Linked DNA regions of Homo sapiens: region 1 is linked to region 2. Evidence: promoter capture Hi-C in human tissues and cell types (Jung and others, 2019). All regions are on one chromosome and are shown on one strand. Each heading gives the region's core, a stretch centred on a gene start or on the middle of the fragment in contact. The rest is flanking DNA. Distances are from core to core; before and after follow the strand shown. Region 1 overlaps HS6ST1 (heparan sulfate 6-O-sulfotransferase 1). Region 2 holds the start of SAP130 (Sin3A associated protein 130).

Region 1 (2,710 bases), core at 16-2,515, 260 kb after region 2:
TTTCTCGGGGTCAGGAGGGCGAGAGCTCATCTGAGGATCACTGGGGGTGTCCCTGGGACCCCTCCAGGCTCCACCTCCTGCTGACCCCACAGCAACTCATGTCAGGGTCCGAGGCAAAGTCCTGGTTCTCACCCACGACCCCACAGAGCCTCTCTGCAGCGAAGAGGGGCTGACACCTGCTCCCTCAACCCCCGAGTCCATATAAACACAGAGGCGGCCGCGGAGAGATGGCCTTGCATGCTCTTGAATGTAGACTATTCTTCCCCAGACAGGGAAATTCAGAGCCTAAACAGCCCACCCCAGAGATAAGCCATTCTGTGCCCAAGCTAACTGCAGTATCCAACTCTATACTCCCATGGCCCTGGCTCTACTTACAAGGAGGGCGACAGCTCCGGGTGATGCACTGAGAAAGCTGTCACCTGAGCAGTGACCCTGGGGACTCGGGAATGCTGACTCTCCAGAACCAGCCATTTTATGGCCCCCCATCAAGCACTTCTGTGGTTGGTGCCTCCAAAAAAGGTTAGGGCCCAGCAGGCATTTGCTCATTTTATTCCTGCAACCCCGGTACGGTCGCCACTATTAGATCCCCCTGCAGATGGGCAAATGGAGACTCAGAGATCCTTCTGCAGCCAAAGTCTCCCAGATACCAGAGGTGTCTGACTTCATAGGCCACAAGGCATGTCTGCTGCTCACCCACGTGCACGGTCCCTGAGATGAGCAGCACGAAGCTCCCAGGAGAACCCGGCGCGCCATTGGCAGCACCAGAAAACAGGTCTCCAGCTTGCTAAGGGATCTGCCATCCAGCAGCTGTGTGGCCCTGACGAGTTCCCCAAGGAATGCATCTGTCATCTGTTTCCTCCTTGCACAAAACAAGACAATATGCCTCCTGGAGGTCACAGCATGACGCTCGGCATGAGGATGGGCCCACCCCAGCTGGCAGGGAAAGAGAGGAAGCTGCCGGAACAGACCTACCTGCTTTCACCAACCACAGGCCAGAGGCACCAGGAGAACATGTAAGAGATAGAGAGAGGATAGCTGTCAGTCAAATTATTTGTATAAAATGTCCAAATATAAGTCACAAATAGCCCGATAATCTCAAAAAGCAAAAATCAAAGCAGTAGTTTAAAATCTTCCTAAAATATTGAGGAAATGCCTGCAGCTTACATTCAAATGATTCTACTAAAATGCAAAAGCATGTATATAACTACATATATAAATATACATGTAAGTACACATGTATCTACAGATATACATATATGTAAACAGCAAGTGAGAGCACCCACTCACAAGCACAAATATTGCAAAATGTTAACAAGCAGTGGGTCTCGGTGAAAGGTATGAGGTTCACTTTACTACCATTTCAACGACTTTGTAAGTTTGACATTTTTCAAGATAAAAAGTTAGGGGTAAAATTCCTACAAAGAAAGTGCTGGGCTATTTCTACCAAATTTTAAAAGAACCAGATTTTTGTAAGCAAACCCTCCTAGACAAGAGTAAAGCAGTGGACACTCCCAATTCATTCTATGAGGCCAACATAATCCTAATACCGAAGTTGGACAAATGCACAAGAGAGGAAAATTGCAGCCTGGTGGACACATCTGCTAAGCTCAGAGTTCAAATATAGATACAAAAATTCCTCAACAAAAATCTTATCAAATCCAACCCAATTGAGCATATAAAAGATATTACACTACGACCATACTTAGTAACCCCAGGTATGCAAGGATGGCTTAACAGGAGAAAATCCATACATGTGACTCATCACAGCAACAGACTACAGAGCTCAGTAAATGTGTAAGAAGCATCTGCTAAAAACACTATTCATAATAAAAACTCTCAGGAAACTAGGAATAGAAGTCCCTTAATTTGGCCAGGCGTGGTAGCTCACACTTGTAATCCCAGCACTTTGGGAGGCTGAGGCAGGTGGATGACTTGAGGTCAGGAGTTCAAGACCAGCCTTGCCAACATGGCGAAACACCGTCTCTACTAAAAATACAAAAAAAAAAAAAAAAAAAAAAAAAAAATTTAGCATGCATGATGGCACGCACCTATAAAGAGGCTGAGGCGTAAGAATCACTTGAACCCAGGAAGTGGAGGTTGCAGTGAGCGGAGATCGTGTCATAGCACTCCAGCCTGGGCAAAAGAGTGAAACTGTCTCAAATTAAAAAAAAAAGTTCCTTAATTTGATAAAGTATCCCCAAAACCTAGAGCAAGCATGGTCCCCATGGGGAAGAGTCAGATGCATTCCCTCTAAGATCATGAATAAGACAAAGATGTCCACTCTCTCTAAGGCAATTCTGCATGTACTGGGGATCTCAGCTGACACAATAAAACAAGGAGGAACTAGGGACCTAACTGTCCCAGTAGAGTCCCCTTGCCTGTCCTTCTTGTCTTTAGTGAGTACCCCGTGCAGGCATTACTAGGCTGGGGGCTTCACACACCCTCTCAGACAGCCGGAGTCCCGGCATGGGGGAGGGCTACTTTTCTTGCCCACTGCCCTTGCCCTGGGTCCAGAGCACCCCATAGTTAAGGCTGTGGGTTTGCGCTCAGTGAGGTGTGAGTCCTGGAGGTTTGGGGCGGCCATGGCACTGGAGCAGCAGAAGGAAGCATTAGCCTCCTCAGTCTGGATCCTCACTGTGTCTCTTGGGGGCTAGACCTCTGGCAGGGAGGGCCCCAGGCACTGGGTGAGCTCAGAAGGTGCGTCAGCGGG
Region 2 (2,740 bases), core at 154-2,653:
TGAAACACTCAAATCTCACACCAAGGTGAACAGAACTGTGATTAGTATGTCATAGGAACATTCGGAGGAAGATATCCAGCCCTAAGAAAAGATCCGATATCTTACATCCAGACCCGATGCAAAAGGAATTCTCCAATGCTTTTCGGCAAAGGCCTCCATTTACGGATTTCCTTTTCCTTCTCTTCCACAGATCCCCTCACAGAGCCAGAGGACCCTACACCTTCTCCATCTTCCCTAAAATCGCCCCCCACTTTTCCCTCAGGAGCCAAGCGATCTCCCGATTCGCCCGCAACCCCACCCCACCGCGAAGCCCCCGCTGAGACCGGAGGACGCCGGTTTCCAGACACCTCGGAGTGTGAGACCCCCGTCTCCGGGGTGGGGGTGCGGACGGGCGATCTGGGGACCCGACCACAAGACGAGCACTGTGCCTCTTTACCTGTAGCCGCCGCCCGCCGCCCGCACCGCCCGCTTCTATCTCGCCGGCCTGGGGGTGCCGCGGAGGGCCCATCTCGGCGGCGGCGATGTGCTCGGCGGGCGCGGGGAGGGATCGCGGCGGCGGCGCCCGGGGCCCGCTGCTGTCCAGCCCCGCTGGCCCCACTCACCCCCGCCACCCGGCCGCCGCTGTGCTCGCAGTCCTCTTCCCCCGAACCTGCCCCTGCCTCCCCCGCCCGCCCATTGGCCCCACGCCCGACGCGTCAGTGGAGGCCCAGGACCAATCCACAGCGACCTGCACGTTCAGAGCCCGCCCCACCCTCCCGCCGACTGCCAGCCAATCAGGCGCGAGCCTGGCCGGGGCAGCCCAAACCCCTCGAGGCTGAGCCAATGGCAGAGGAAGACAGGCGCCCCCGGCGAAGGGGGCGGGGAGCGGGGAGGCCCCGCCTCAGCCAGGGTCTGAAAGCGGCGGGCGCAGGGCCCGGATGTGGAGAGTCACTTTAAACTGCTCCAGGAGCCAAACTCCCTGGGCCGGCCGCCCGCCCGCCCGCCCGCCCGCGCTCCCCCGGCCGCTCTGCTTCCCCGCCAAGGCCCACGTCCGCCACGCCCCCACGCCCGGGTCAGCCCACCCCTCCCGGTGCCTCTCCCTTCCTCGCCACAGGACACCCAGCCCCTGTCGCCGGCCCAACCGCCGTGACCAGCTCGCGAAAGAGCCGCGGTCCGAGCCGCAGGAGACGAGGATCCTCTGCCCTTCCCCGGGGACGCGCAACGGGACGGACGCTGCAGCCCGGCTCAGCCGCCCCGCCCCCTCGTCTCCTCCCCTTCCCTCCCGGGCGCCCGTCCCGCCATTACCTGGGTGCTGCGCCCAGTGGCCGCCGCGCCGCCTTGAGCTCGCTCCCGCGCGCTCTCCGTCTGTGGGGCCGACGTCCCCAGGCTCCGGACCCGCAGCCACCGCCGGGGAGCTAGCACTCTGCCCCCCACCCCTCACTCCAGCGCCGCTGCTTCCGCCGCCGTAACGAGCCTCCCGTCTATTGGCTGGCGCAGGCCCCGCCCCCTGCCGAGTCAGCCAGTCGCCGGTGGTCGTGAGCGGGAGAGCGGACGGGCCCGCCCCTCTGAGCCGCGGCGTCCTGTGGGAAATGTAGTCGCCGGAGTCAGGAGGGCGGGCCGCGAAGGAGGTGGAGAGCGCCGGGGCGGGGCCGCAGGCGACCCGGCCAGGGCAACACACCCCTTTGCTGTCTGAAGTCGGTTCTGCCTTTTCTCTTGGCTAAGTGAGAAGACAGTGGATCCCACCCTATGCCTTAACCTGAGGGCACTGGGTTTCATTTTCCCCGCGGGGAGGCGCGGCGCGGGAAAGGGTAATGGAGGCCAACTGCGGCGGCCAAGGGATCCGCGGGCCGGGCCAGTGTCGTGACGGTGCCCGCCTCCCTATGCCGCGAGTGGGACTCGGTGTCCCCACCGGGAACCGCGGTCGGCACAGCCTACGCGCGGCGGGAGCCGCCAGGCGCAGCGCGGGCGCGGCTCTGTGAAAGCAGGCCGGCAGGGCGCAGGGCTCTGGGCGGCCGGGGCGCACCTGCGCGCGCTTTCCGGATTATAAAGGAGCTGAAGGGGGCAGTTTTATTTTGTCATTTTGCTTGGGGTTCAGGGTTGGAGTTTATGCACCTGTAGAAGACTTAGCCATATCTTTTGAGGCCACATTTGTGTCTGATAAGAGATTAAGTCTCCCTCTTCCCTTACCAGATGGTAATTTAGGCCTGGAGTTTTGTGATTAGTTAGGAAATAAATGGGGCTCAAACCCCCCTCTTCCTATCATGCACAGCTGTGTAAGACAACTGCTTGGTTAGAAGAGAGTAGCTCCTGGCTATAGCCCAGGGATGAGTCTCAGATACTCCTCCTCTTCAAGCCACTTTCCTTTTCCACCTTCATGCCTTCATTCTCAAACTTCTAAAGAGTGACTCCTGTGATAGACTTCAGCCTCCTCTCTGCCTAGGCAGTCCTTATCCCTTTTGGAGTTGCCACTCTTCTCAGACTGCTCCCCAAAAGTTGCCAACACCTACTCAACTTCAAACCCATCGGTCCTCACTTAGATCTCATCTTGTTTAGCTTACTGACCAGTAGTAATTCCTCCTCATGTCTTCCCTTGGCCTCTAGAACCAGGCTGTCTCCTGCTTCTACTCCTATGTCAAGCTCCATTATACCTCCTCTTTCTCATAAATACAGCATTCTTCAGGGCTCCAACACGCTAATGCTATACTGCCTTCCTAAATGGTTTAATGTATTTCCACAGTTTCAAATGTCATCCTTTTTGTTT

What was found. The method cuts DNA at HindIII sites, captures the fragments that hold promoters and counts their contacts. A contact is called where the count stands out against the background at its distance.
Region 1: a contact is called between a fragment that was not itself captured here and the fragment with the promoter of SAP130 in region 2, in 1 of the 25 tissues and cell types used here (spleen).

The regions. Positions count from the first base shown.
Region 1 is chr2:128,288,822-128,291,531 of GRCh38, forward strand. All of the region lies in intron 1 of HS6ST1 (heparan sulfate 6-O-sulfotransferase 1), which reads right to left. Among named protein-coding and RNA genes, the nearest start is that of HS6ST1, 29 kb to the right of the region's middle. The HindIII fragment of the contact is 4,625 bases long and covers 1-2,710 here.
Region 2 is chr2:128,026,656-128,029,395 of GRCh38, forward strand. SAP130 (Sin3A associated protein 130) reads right to left here and starts at 1,404. Exons shown (of 21, transcript NM_001330301.2): 1 at 1,285-1,404. RefSeq lists silencers at 382-671, 732-1,071, 1,172-1,691, 1,942-2,091. The HindIII fragment of the contact is 22,535 bases long and covers 1-2,740 here.